Regions from separate parts of the Homo sapiens genome. Here regions 1 and 3 are each linked to region 2. The links are contacts of gene promoters, found by promoter capture Hi-C in human tissues and cell types (Jung and others, 2019). All regions are on one chromosome and are shown on one strand. Each heading gives the region's core, a stretch centred on a gene start or on the middle of the fragment in contact. The rest is flanking DNA. Distances are from core to core; before and after follow the strand shown.

What was found. Contacts are between HindIII fragments. The study calls those that stand out against the background at their distance.
Region 1: a contact is called between the fragment with the promoter of GSTM5 here and a fragment that was not itself captured in region 2, in 4 of the 25 tissues and cell types used here (IMR-90 fibroblasts, lymphoblastoid cells, mesenchymal stem cells and 1 more).
Region 3: the fragment with the promoter of GSTM1 here is called in contact with a fragment that was not itself captured in region 2 in 2 of the 25 tissues and cell types used here (liver and lymphoblastoid cells).

The regions. Positions count from the first base shown.
Region 1 is chr1:109,709,279-109,713,628 of GRCh38, reverse strand. GSTM5 (glutathione S-transferase mu 5) reads right to left here and starts at 1,378. Exons shown (of 8, transcript NM_000851.4): 1 at 1,281-1,378; 2 at 936-1,011; 3 at 446-510; 4 at 64-145. The coding sequence starts at 1,316. The HindIII fragment of the contact is 7,760 bases long and covers 1-4,350 here.
Region 2 is chr1:110,020,959-110,025,419 of GRCh38, reverse strand. AHCYL1 (adenosylhomocysteinase like 1) reads right to left here. Exons shown (of 17, transcript NM_006621.7): 17 at 1,678-3,746. The coding sequence ends at 3,740. Among named protein-coding and RNA genes, the nearest start is that of STRIP1, 11 kb to the left of the region's middle. The HindIII fragment of the contact is 6,125 bases long and covers 1-4,461 here.
Region 3 is chr1:109,686,536-109,691,439 of GRCh38, reverse strand. GSTM1 (glutathione S-transferase mu 1) reads right to left here and starts at 3,623. Exons shown (of 8, transcript NM_000561.4): 1 at 3,531-3,623; 2 at 3,195-3,270; 3 at 2,703-2,767; 4 at 2,311-2,392; 5 at 2,115-2,215; 6 at 1,074-1,169; 7 at 876-986. The coding sequence starts at 3,566. RefSeq lists an enhancer at 3,524-3,573. The HindIII fragment of the contact is 14,943 bases long and covers 1-4,904 here.

The DNA of each region.
Region 1 (4,350 bases), core at 129-2,628, 310 kb after region 2:
CATCACAGCCCAGCCAAGGAGGAGGTCACCTTCCCCCCGCACATTGCAGCCACCCACACTCACACAGGTTGTGCTTGCGGGCAATGTAGCGCAGGATGGCATTGCTCTGGGTGATCTTGTGAGCCCCATCAATCAAGTAGGGCAGCTGGATAGATGGGAAACCGGGGAAGCTCAGTTGGGCCACCAGGCTCCCCAGCATCCCCTTCCCATATGCAAGGGCAGAGAGGAGACCAGGGCCTGCTCATGGCAGGCCTGAGATAGAAATACTGTCACACTAATAAATGAGCTGGGACACAGAACATCATGCAAGGGCTGTGTAGACAGCCAAGAGTGAGAGGAATTGGGCAGAAGACTCCTGATCTTAACACCTCTAAGGTGGGGAGAGGAGATGCAGTCAGAGACACGTCGCACTTTCCCCCAAAACCGCCCCTTCCCCTGCACCTACATTGGGAAAGTCCAGGCCCAGCTTGAATTTTTCATTCAGCCACTGGCTTCTGTCATAGTCAGGAGCTGTGGTGGGGAAGAAGTGAAAACAAACCTCCCCAGAGCCCAGCCCTCCTTCCCGGGGACCCTCCCAAGGAGCCAGTGGCAAGATCCCTGAGACAGGTGGATCTAGAATCTGACCACTCAGTCCCACATCCCAGGGTTCAGGGAGAAAGAATCCCACTGAGGGCTCTGGACCCCACAACGGCTAAGGCTTCCAGGGTTTAGGGAAGCTCTGAGGGACACCCAACCCAATTAGACAGGGTGTCCAGCATCCCGCCCCAGCATTCTGCCTTGCAAGGCCAGAGGGCTCACTCACGGGAGCTCAGGGAAGGGACAGCCTGCAGCTCCAGCAGGGGAGGCCTGCAGAGGCAGCCACAGGTGGCCACCATGGGTTGCTTGGTGCCAACTCAGCGTGAGTGGGCAGGGCCCGGACACGAGGGTGCCATTACCGTCCCCCAGCGTGTACTTCTTTTCCACATAGCTTGAGTCTGTGTATTCCAGGAGCAAGCGGATGGCGTGGGCCAGCTGGGAGAGATGGCCCGCGGCTCGGGTCAGAGATGGAGGGTCCCTGACTTGGTGACTTTCTCTGCACCAGGCCAGCCCCTAGTCTATACTGCACGTACCCGTCGCCTCCTCTACCCGCCCCCACCCCCAAACACACACACAGCGTCATGCACAGGCCCTTCTGAGGCGGGCAGCCCTGAAGAGGAACGGTCCCTAGAGCCAGTCCTGCAGCTACTCCACACATCCCCGCCTCCGCCCCCTGTCCCACCCACCAGAGGACCCTCGCTTACCCCACGGATGTCCCAGTACCCCAGAGTCATGGGCATGGTGCTGGTTGGTGCGGATTCTGCAGACAGGCATCAGCGGAGCGGGGCTCAGACTTTGAGAGGCCCAGGAGGGGACAGGCGGGGCCTTGCTGCGACCCCGCCCCTCGGCCCGCCACAACCCCGAAACACGCCATTCTGTAGGCCCCCGAGCGAGCGCCCGGGGCTGGAATCAATAAGCCCCCTCCCGCCTCCCAGTCCCCAGGGTTCCGGGAGCGAGGTCAGGGCGCCCAGAAGCCCAAAGCGGGGCTCGGCCTCGCCAGCTTCCCCAACCCGCCCTGAGGCTCCATGAGTCCATCCAGCCCTTGCTAGGTCCACAGCGACTTGGCTGTGCGCTTGAGACACCAGCCAGATCCTAACGGAGCAAAGCTCTTCTCCCTTCTCCTCCCTGCCCGCAGAATCCCTCAGCCTTCTCTCCGCTGCCGAGTTCCCAAGGGCTCTGGGAGACTCCGGCTGCAGGGGTCAGACTAAAAAGTGGTGGTCCCAACCTGGGAATTTAATTCAGCCCCTGTCACTGTAAGAGCAGGACTTCCTCTGATCCGAAAGCTACTCCGAGGGCTTAGTCTCCCCTCTAGCCCCGCCTACACAGGAACAGTGTCAGTGGTATAGGAAGGACCCCCAGGAAAAGGGCCAGAGTAAAGGAAATGTGGTCTGTGTTTTCTGTTAGGGGCCTTTGGATACTGAGTCCTTCGGTCATCTGGCTAAGTACTATGTAAATTAGCCACTTCGTATTTTGGCACAATTTATGAATCGAAATCCAAGGATCAGATCCAGCAAGTTGGTGAGGTATCTGAGGTGCCCCCTAGAAATGTCCAGCCAGTCCACTAGGTGAACCTCACAGAGACCGGAACAGCAACAGCAACAGTGAGTGCAGTGGCCACAGAGAGCAGGCGAGGGAGGATGGAAGAACTTCCCGGACCAAACTGAGGGTCCGGCTGCTATTTCTCTAGGCCCAATAACGAGATGCAGATCAAATGGGGAGGAAGAGAGGTTTTATTTCTGCAACCAGTTACAGGGAGAAGGCCTGGAAATTACTACCAGACCAACTCAAAATTAAAGTTTTCCAGAGCATATATACCTTCTAAGGTATATGTCTACAAGTAAGTGTGCATTCATCTAAAGACATAAGTGATTAACTTCTTTAATCTGTAACTGAGGTCTGGGTCCTGAGGACCTTACTCTGGAGCCTCAGTCTATTTACTTAATCTAAATGGGTCCAGGTGCGGGGGATGATTGCCCTTATCTTGTCTCCTGCTAAATCATGGAGGTTTGGGGAGTTCCTTCAGATGCCCAGTAAACTTGTTTGTGGAGGCCTGGGGAGTTTCTTCAGACTCACAATAAAACTTGTTTAATTCTAAATAGGTCCTGTTAAGAATTCCTTCGTTGTTTTGTCATGCTTTAAGGCCCAGGAAAGGCCTAAGCAAAACTCTTGGTGGGCTTTTGTTACATCCAGCCTCTGTATAAAGGTACTGGCTTTTTTCAGCTTTTAATATTTAATTTCATCACTCAGTCAGTACTGAAACAGTTGTTATGGAGGCCTGTGTTAGTGACACCTGGTCTGCCACAGAACCTGTCCCTCAGAGAAGCCAGAACCCTGTCCTGCTGAGGAGGGAGGTCAGAGGATGGTGGCCAGAGAGGAGCCTGAGGGCTCCCCACAGGATCACAGGCAGGGACTCTCCCCTCTCCAGATCCACCATGCCGGACCTGGACCTGGCTCCTGACCCATGTGTGTTCTTCAGTATGAGACGGTGGCTCCAGTGGCCTTTGAAGTCACACCGTGATATGTGACCCATGGTACAACCTCCGCAAGAACAATGTCCAACCTGCCAACTTTCTTCTTTCAAGGTAGAAGGAAGACTTTCAAAAGAGTTGTGCAATGGATTAGCCTGGGGTTGACTGCTTTTTTTAAAGGATATTACAAATAATAATGGATATATGGAAATAGATGATAGACCTTTAATGAGAAATCATTTTGCAATGTAAACCAGGCTGTTGTGCTGCAAAAAAAGTAGTTTTTTGTTTTTTGTTTTTGTTTTTGTTTTTTTGTAAATTAGCTAAAACATTGTTAGGACTCCAGAGGATGAACCCAGTATATCAAAAAAGTTTCAAACCACCTGGATAATGTGTGGTTTGGGGTTGAGTAAACAGGTAGACTTCATCACATCCCTATTAGGCCACAGAAATCAGGTGGTCAGCAGGTGGCTGCTAAGTTGGGGCACTTGGACACTGTGTCACTGAGGCTGGCAAGGCACAGTCCTTGTTGCAAACACTCCCCACCCATCCAGACCTGGGCAGTACTCCCAGCTCAGATACCTGGCAGGTATCCATGTTTAGGAAGCAGTTTTGGCCTCACAGTGAATTCTCACATAGATTTTCCTGCATTGAGGCAATAGCACCAGCACAGACACAAGTGCCTGGCCCTAGGAATCATTATATTTCTCATTATGCATTAAGAGTTTATGATTTTGAGTTAATGGGTCTTGAGCTGTGAAAGATAAGATGTCTAGATCCAATTGATAAAAACGATTTTTTAAGAAAGCTAACACTCATGAGAATAATAATTTTGAAACACATAGAACCAGTACTGTTACATTAGTATTGTTTGAAATACTTGTTCCTTGGTTCCATAAAGAAATAGCACTTGAACATAAATTTAATTTCCTCAGCAAGGCTATCGGGGAAACTGCCCCCAGTATTTCAACATAGGTTCTATTTTCCATAAGTGTCAGCTGGCTGAGAAATAAAGAGAAAGAGTACAAAGAGAGGAATTTTACAGCTGGGCCGCCAGGGGTGACATCACATATCAGTAGGACCGTGATGCCGGCCCGAGCCTCAAAACCAGCAAGCTTTTATTAAGGATTGCAAAAGGGGAGGGGGTGTACGAACGGGGGGTAGGTACAAAGATCACATGCTTTAAGGGGCAAAAAACAGAACAGAGATCACATGCTTCTGAGGAAACAGGACAAGGGCAAAAGTAGAACTCCTGATAAGGGTCTATGTTCAGCAGTGCACGTATTGTCTTGATAAACATCTTAAA
Region 2 (4,461 bases), core at 670-3,169:
CAAATCATTACTATGCTGATGCTCAGGTTGTCTCAGATTTACCCCATGTAAATCCCTTACAGCTGGCTTATGTATCCTTTTTTAAGGCCTTCCTTGCTTTCTGGTTTATCTTGTACTTTTTTTTGCTCTGCCATGGAATCAGTCATCTCTCCAACGAGTCCTGGCTTCTTTCGGTGGAGAATGTAGTGCCTAGACCTCGAGGTCAGGTATGTGCACTGGGGGAAGAGGGGAACTGCTGCTCCAAGGCTTGCTTAGTAGAGAGAGCTAGGGAGTGTTTGTACACACACACACACGTACATTGACATCTGTATTTCTTTAACTAGGTTGATATTTATGACTTCACACTATCATCTCCTATTCAAACCCAACAGCAGAGTTCATTCTAGTGTTTTCCCTTTCCAATGTGTAACACCTTCCTCCAAAATGAGACAGCTGGCTTCCGCTACCCTTAATATTTTCACGTACAGTGATCAAATCCCTTATCCCTAACTAATCTGCCATTGCCATTCATCCCCTGCATAGATGCATTCCCCACGCCACTTGGGATCTGACTCCTTGTACCAAGCTACATCCCCAGTTCCCACAAGGATACCACCCACACTCACAGGCTGCAAATCCACATGAATCCCTAGCTTGCTCTGTCTTACCTAATGGCCAAATTGTGGGTAAAGGAAAAAGGGAAGGAATTTGGATCTTGTTGGAATTTTACGTAAACACCACAAAGGAAGAGATCATCTGATTTAAACTGATGTATCCCCAGTATCTAAAACAGACTTTGGCATATATGAGGTAATAGTTAGGTCCTTTTTGCCCTTCTACCTTCTGCTATATGAGGATGCATAAGAGGTACCATCTTGGAAGCAGGCAGCAGCCCTCTTCAGACACCAAATCTGCCAACGACTTGACCTTGGACTTCCCAGCCTCCAACTGTGAGAATATCAATTTCTGTTCTTTATAAATTACTCAGTCTCAGGATTTTGCTGGAGCAGCAGAAACTGACCAAGATAAATACTTTCTTACATCAGAAGACACTGGCCAGTAATCCCAGCACTTTGGGAGGCAGAGGCAGGAGGATCACTTGAGCCCAGGAGTTTGAGATCAGCCTAGATTTCATGGCGAAACCCCATCTCTACCAAAAATACAAACAATTAGCTGACACTGTGGTCCCAGCTACTTGGGAGGTTGAGGTGGGAGGATCACTTGAGCCCGGAAGGCAGAAGTTGCAGTGAGCTGAGATCAAGCCACTGCACTCCAACCTGGGTGACAGTGAGACCTTGTCTCAAAAAAATAAAGAGAAAAAAAAAAAAAAAAGACACTGAGACCACTTCAGAAATGGATACAGGTGTGGGAGGAGGCTGAAGCTTACATAACTTTGGGGGCATTCTTCAGAAATTAGGTCTTAGAAGGACTATGCAAATGAGGAACCCTGAGGCTTAAGCAGCAAGTCTGCTTCCTGAAGGAAGTTAGGAGTGAAAGTACCCAGGCCCGGTGCTTGGCACAGAGCAGGCATACAAAACTTCAGGTATTACTTTGAAGAATCCTGTATCCAGCCTCTATATATTAGGCCCTCAACAAATCTCTATTAAATGCTACTGACCTATAACTTGTCACACCCTAGAAAACAGGTTCTAATGAAGTTTTGCTGTTTAACAAAGAATGACACATACGGACTGCCAATAAGGTCTTATCATTTTAATCGATTTTAATGATTATTGCTCATCTGCAAGGATTAATATTGCATTCATTAAAAATCATTCAATACAAAATGAACTTGTTCTTCCCAAGTTGCTCTCCACATGCTCCCTCTGATGCCAGACTTTTTTTTTTTTTTAACAGTGTCCTTTGTTACATGGCTTGACAGAGACAGAGCCCTTACCTATTATTCCTATGGACACGGTAATAGATATGGGATCAAGGGGCAGGTCAGAGGGCAGGTGAATGTGGGTCCCTTCCCTCCAGCAGGGCTAACGTGATGGATACACTGTTGGCCAGGTTACCTCCCCTAACAGATGTGGTGTTCTGATTGGTTGGTTAAGTGCCCGAGGAAAATAGGCCTTAACTGTTAACATCTACAGAGAAGAAAGCATGGTCACACTGGCAAGGAGTAAGAAGGGATTGGGTAAAAGAAAATGGGAGAGAAAAGGGAAAAAAGTTTTGGCAAGACAATTGTTCCCTGCTAAGAAGCTGCAGGGTGAAAGCTTTCCTTTCTTCTATTTTTGTTTTTAATGTCTGTCTCTCTGATCAGTGGAAAAGTGAAAATTTCTAGTATCTAGCACTAACGTATGACCCAACTTTGAGGGATCACAAGCTAGAACAAGTTGAGGATTTAAAATCCTGGATAATTATATACTTAAAGCTCATGAGCATAAAGCTCACTTGACCATGCAGAAATGCTGGGAAGCAGGGTGCATGGCATGGGAATACATCTCCCTGATCTTTGAGAGAGCCTCTCTGGATATTCTTTCAGAGCATGAGCCAGGATGTACTGACTACTTTCTTCACACATCAGTTGCCCTTTATGATCTCAGTTCATAAACTCTTTGTGGTATGTAGCAATCAAAAGTCATATTACTTCTGTAAAACTAACATTATATAGGGTGTATAGTCCCAGACAAATTATATGAAGCTAGATTTTTCTTGCCCTGGCCCAATTTATCATTCCTCCTCCTGCCCACACCTACCTCCCTTTAAATATTTTAGGTTGCAGAAGCACAGCTGACCAGAAATTTGCTCTTAAAGATAAATCCTAAAGATAGAACTCAGTGCTTTATACTGAGTAATGGCTCAAGAAATTCGCCTTCAGCACAAGCTGTATGGTACACAGCTGATAGAATTTGCTGTTGTGGCTCCAGTTCACTGATGCTATGAACTACGGGCTAGAAACAGAGGGACTTAACAGGGCTTGAGACTAGCATTTCTCTAGACTCAGCATCCTTAGCTCCAAAGGTTCAAAAGAGAAATTGGTAACAACTAACCACTCAAGCAATTCCTCAGCATTAACACCAAAAATTCTCCTTAATTTTTCTTTTCTTTTTTTTTTTTTTTGGACAACAGAAATAAATCCTAGAGGACAAAATTAAACTCAATAGAGTGTAGTCTAGTTAAAAACTCGAAAAATGAGCAAGTCTGGTGGGAGTGGAGGAAGGGCTATACTATAAATCCAAGTGGGCCTCCTGATCTTAACAAGCCATGCTCATTATACACATCTCTGAACTGGACATACCACCTTTACGCAGGAAACAGGGCTTGGAACTTCTAAGGGAAATTAACATGCACCACCCACATCTAACCTACCTGCCGGGTAGGTACCATCCCTGCTTCTCTGAAGAAGTGAAAGAGCACTGATTTCAGCAGCTAAGAAATGGGCTCTTTTAAGGCGATTTAGACATTGCAGATTGTTCCACAGAGAAGGTACCTTAGCATTTCCTGTTAATAAGGTACCTAATTAAGACTAAAGTCCCCAGAAATGGTAAAGAAAGAATCACCTTTCTGGGCTGGGAGAGTAAAATCCTTCTTTAGTGACTAGAGTGAGGAACCCTGAACTTCTATTTCATCTAAAGAGCCATGAAGCAAGTTCCTGTGTGGTCTGCAGAACTTGGATAATGAGATGAAAAAACAAGAATGAAATTATAGGAAAAAAATCAAGAGGAAAGGAGTAAGAAGAAAATAAAAGTTATCTTAAAAAATATTTCTTTAGAGTGTGTGGTTCAGGTGGACTGGTCCTTGGTAGTATGGTCCATTAGTATCTGTAAAGAGAGAGAGTGATTGGTTAACACTTATGTCTTCCATATGAGAATTCCAAAAAACAATCGGAAACAGAGCACCTTCTCCAGGGCCCCTCCCCAGCCTGGGTGGGATCCCTGCAGTCATTCCCCAGGGCACCAGTCTCCCTTATTCTTCCACAGGGTCTCTGACAATGCCATTTCTGGTGTTACCGCCTGTTCCCAGGAATGAGTCAGTGTTTTTTCAACCCTGACTAAACATTACAATAATCTGGGGAGGTTTTACAAAATAATGTTTTGTAAATTTGGTCCCATCGCAGACCAAATATATCAGAATCTCTTAGGGTGAGGCCCAGGCTCCAAAATTTCAAAAAAACCCTAACTCCCTGATATCTCCCACAATTTCTCTATCTACCTTGTTAACTGGAACAGTTTTTTTGTTTGTTTGTTTGTTTTTAAGACAGAGTCTCACTCCATCACCCAGGCTGGAGTGCAGTGGCATGATCCCAGCTCACTGCAACCTCCGCCTCCCAGGTTCAAGTGATTCTCGTGCCTCAGCCACCTGAGTAACTGGGATGACAGGTGCCCGCCACCACACCCGGCTAAGAGATAGGGTTTCGCCATGTTGGCCAGGCTGGTCTTGAACTCCTGACCTCAAGTGATCCATCCGCCTAGGCCTCTCAAAGTGCTGGGATTACAGGCGTGAGCCACCGTGCCTGGCCTGGAACAGATTTCTTGT
Region 3 (4,904 bases), core at 2,374-4,873, 340 kb after region 2:
CCAACATGGCAAAACCCCATCTCTACTAAAAATACAAAAATTAGCCAGACGTGGTGGTGCACACCTGTAATCCCAACTAATCGTGCAGCTGAGGCAGTAGAATCGCTTGAACCCAGGAGGCGGAGGTTGCAGTGAGCCAAGATCACTCCATTGAACTCCAGCCTGGGCAACAGAGCAAGACTCCAGCACAAAAAAAAAAAAAAAAAAAAAAAAAGAATAGAGGTGGAGTAAGGAAGTGCCCCAGCACCGGGCATTTCAACATATACTCCTTCAACAGGGACACCCACATATGTACCTTAATCCAGCTACAGCCACAGCCCTGGCTCTCAGGATTCCCCACACTGGGGTCCAATCATGCAAAGCTTCTGGAGGTAGCTATGAATATTGCCTGTGGGTTCAGTACTAGACATCAATGTCACCGTTGTGTCAGTCCTACTATTGCCAGCTCCATCTATGGTCATGAAGTTCTCTGCCTCTTCCAAAGTGTCCTGGGCTGTGAAACCCAGGCTAGGTGAAGCCTAAGGCTTTTTCTTCTGTCACAAATGGGAGAGCCCTGACTGCCACCCATAGATCCAGAGGCTCACAGGGAGCCCAGCACAGCCTCCACTAGCTCTGGGACCCTGAGCAAAGGACTGACCCTCTCATTCTTAGTTTCCTTATCTCTAAAATGGGCGAGATAATTCTGTTACCTTACTGGAATGTTATAAAATTCAAATTTCACACAATAGGTATAATGTGCTGGGCACGGTTCGTGGCATGAAACCAGTACTCAATACATGCGAGTTATTCTGTGTGTAGCTCCAGGACTGGGAAAACATCTGAAAGGAGGTAACGGAACAAGGGGCATCAAAGAGAAAGGAGGATGGGGGCATCACCTCAAAGCGGGAGATGAAGTCCTTCAGATTTGGGAAGGCGTCCAAGCACTTGGGCTCAAATATACGGTGGAGGTCAAGGACATCATAGACGAGAAAATCTACAAAAGTGATCTGCAGAAGGCCAAGAATATGTGGGCTGGAACCTCCATAACACGTGAAGCAAAACAGATCTCATTCCCCATATCACTCCTCCTTTACCTTGTTTCCTGCAAACCATGGCCGCTTCCCCAGAAACTCTGAGTAGAGCTTTAGCTTTTCAGGGAGTTCCTCCAAGTACTTTGGCTTCAGTTTCTCCTGAGGCAGAAAACAGCTGTCACCACCCTCGGACAAAAGCTCCCTGCACAGACGTGGCCTCCCCGGGGCTGTGGACGGCCCAGGCTGGCCATGGGCAAGCAGCCATCTTCCCCAAGCTGGAACTGGGGCAGTGCCCAGGCTTCAATTGGATACATCAGCATTTATTAGACTCTGACTGAGTGCCAGACCCTATCTAAACTGATCAGAAGGCAGAGAGGAATGAGATGCTGTCCCTGAATCTGTCCTCACTGACCTCCCAATAGCCTCTGGGTCAGCCCCAGGAGCGCCCAAGCACCTGGCAGCCTCTGGATCCAGACCAGCAGAATCAAGGATGCAAAGAACTAAGGGAGCTCAGGGAAAGTAGAAAGTTCCTTCTAATGGGGTGGCAGAAGAAAACAATGAACATTGACTAGTTTCCAGGGAGATGAGAAGTTCAAGTTGAAAGGAAGGAGGGAGAGGAATAAAGGCCCTCTGACTGCCTCTGAGCTGTCTGTTATGAAAATGCGCAGATCCCTGTGCATGTCAATGACAGCACTCAGAAAACTGTTGAGGAGAAGATGCAATTCGAGGGTGCCATTACATTCCTGAGTCTTCTACTTGAGTCTGCATATTCTAGGAGCAGGCAGGTGATGTGAACTGGCTGACAGAAATGACCCAGGACAGAAGTCAGAGGCCAGAGCTGATGAAGGAGATTCTGAACACAAACTTTACCATACAGGAACTGAATTTCTACCCTGGGATGCCTGGATCGTGTCCTAAGGTTGGTGGGAATTGCCTCTGCTTTTGTTGACATGACATTGGAGTCGTGAGAATAACTGCTGATAGTATGGGAAAGCACTTGGAGGATGAATGGTACCAGGGACTTAAGACCAGTGTGTGCAGGAATGCAAGAGTCCTGGCCCCAAATCCAAACTCTGTCAGATGCAGCTCACTGGGGACACTCACAAATTCTGGATTGTAGCAGATCATGCCCAGCTGCATATGGTTGTCCATGGTCTGGTTCTCCAAAATGTCCACACGAATCTTCTCCTCTTCTGTCTCCCCACCTGCCACCCACAAAACACAGACTCAATCTCAGCATCACAGCCCAGCCAAGGAGGAGGCCACCTTCCCCCCACACATTGCAGCCACCCACACTCACACAGGTTGTGCTTGCGGGCAATGTAGCACAAGATGGCGTTGCTCTGGGTGATCTTGTGAGCCCCATCAATCAAGTAGGGCAGCTGGATGGATGGGAAACCGGCGAAGCTCAGTTGGGCCACCAGGCTCCCCAGCATCCCCTTCCCATAAGCAAGAGCAGAGAGGAGACCGGGCACTCACTGTGCCTGCTCATGGCAGGACTGAAATAAGAATACTGTCACATGAACGAATGCAGGTGGACACAGAACATCATGGAAGGACTGTTTAGACAGCCAGGAGTGAGAGGAATTGGGCAGAAGACTCCTGATCTTAACACCTCTAAGCTGGGGAGAGGAGATGCAGTCAGAGACACGTTGCACTTTCCCCCAAAACCGCCCCTTCCCCTGCACCTACATTGGGAAAGTCCAGGCCCAGCTTGAATTTTTCATTCAGCCACTGGCTTCTGTCATAATCAGGAGCTGTGGTGGGGAAGAAGAAGTGAAAACAAACCTCCCCAGAGCCCAGCCCTCCTTCCCGGGGACCCTCCCACGGAGCCAGTGGCAAGATCCCTGAGACAGGTGGATCTAGAATCTGACCACTCAGTCCCACATCCCAGGGTTCAGGGACAAAGAATCCCGCTGAGGGCTCTGGACCCCACACAGCTAAGGCTTCCAGGGTTTAGGCAAGCCCTGAGGGACACCCGTCCCAATTAGACAGGGGGCCCAGCATCCCACCCCAGCATTCTGCCTTGCAAGGCCAGAGGGCTCCCTCACCGGGGCTCAGGGAAGAGACAGCCTGCAGCTCCAGCAGGGGAGGCCTGCAGAGGCAGCCACAGGTGGCCACCATGGGTTGCTTGGTGCCAACTTAGCGTGAGTGGGCAGAGCCCGAACACGAGGGTGCCATTACCGTCCCCCATCGTGTACTTCTTTTCCTCATAGCTTGAGTCTGTGTATTCCAGGAGCAGGCGGATGGCGTGGGCCAGCTGGGAGAGATGGCCCGCAGGTCGCGTCAGAGATGGAGGGTCCCTGACTTTGTCTGCACCAGGGAAGCCCCCAGTTTACACTGCACGTACCCGTTGCCTCCTCTACCCGCCCACACCCCCAACACACACACAGCGGCATGCACAGGCCCTTCTGAGGCGGGCAGCCCTGAAGAGGAACGGTCCCTAGAGTCCGTCCCGCAGCTGCTTCGCACTTCCCTCCCCTGCGCCCTCGTCCCACCGTCCAGCGGACCCTCGCTCACCCCGCGGATGTCCCAGTACCCCAGTATCATGGGCATGGTGCTGGTTGGTGCGGATTCCGCAGACAGGCCTAAACCGAGCAGGGCTCAGAGTATAAGAGCTCCGGAGAGGGGACAGGCGGGGCCTTGCTGCGACCCCGCCCCTCGGCCCGCCACAACCCGAAAGGCGCCATTCTGGAGGCCCGGGAGAGGGCGCCTGGGGCTGCACTCAGTAAGACTTCCTCCCGCCTCCCAGGCCCGAGGGTTCCGGGAGCGAAGTCAGGGCGCCCAGAAGCCCAAGGCGGGGCTCGGCCTCGCCAGCTTCCCTACCCAGCCCTGAGGCTCCACGAGTCCATCCAGCCCTTGCTAGGTCCACAGCGACTTGGCTGTGCGCTTGAGACACCAGCCAGATCCTAACGGAGCAAAGCTCTTCTCCCTTCTCCTCCCTGCCCGCGGTGTCCCTCAGCCTTCTCTCCGCTGCCGAGTTCCCAAGGGCTCTGGGAGACTCCGGCTGCAGGGGTCAGACTAAAAAGTGGTGGCCCCAACCTGGGAATTTAATTCAGCCCCTGTCACTGTAAGAGCAGGACTTCCTCTGATCCGAAAGCTACTCCCAGGGCTTAGTCTCCCCTCTAGCCCCGCCTACACAGGAACAGTGTCAGTGGTATAGGAAGGACCCCCAGGAAAAGGGCCAGAGTAAAGGAAATGTGGTCTGTGTTTTCTGTTAGGGGCCCTCGGGTACTGAGTCCTTCGGTCATCTGGCTAAGTACTGTGTAAATTAGCCACTTCGTATTTTGGCACAATTTATGAATCGAAATCCAAGGATCAGATCCAGCAAGTTGGTGAGGTATCTGAGGTGCCCCCTAGAAATGTCCAGCCAGTCCACTAGGTGAACCTCACAGAGACCGGAACAGCAACAGCAACAGTGAGTGCAGTGGCCACAGAGAGCAGGCGAGGGAGGATGGAAGAACTTCCCGGACCAAACTGAGGGTCCGGCTGCTATTTCTCTAGGCCCAATAACGAGATGCAGATCAAATGGGGAGGAAGAGAGGTTTTATTTCTGCAACCGGTAACAGGGAGAAGGCCTAGAAATTACCACCAGACCAACTCAATATTACAAAGTTTTCCAGAGCATATATACCTTCTAAGGTATATGTCTACAAGTAAGTGTGCATTCATCTAAAGACATAAGTGATTAACTTCTTTAATCTGTAACTGAGGTCTGGGTCCTGAGGACCTTATTCTGGAGCCTCAGTCTATTTATTTAATCTAAATGGGTCCAGGTGCGGGGGATGATTACCCTTATCTTGTCTCCTGCTAAATCACGGAGGTTTGGGGAGTTCCTTCAGACGCCCAATAAACTTGTTTGTGGAGGCCTGGGGAGTTTCTTCAGACTCACAA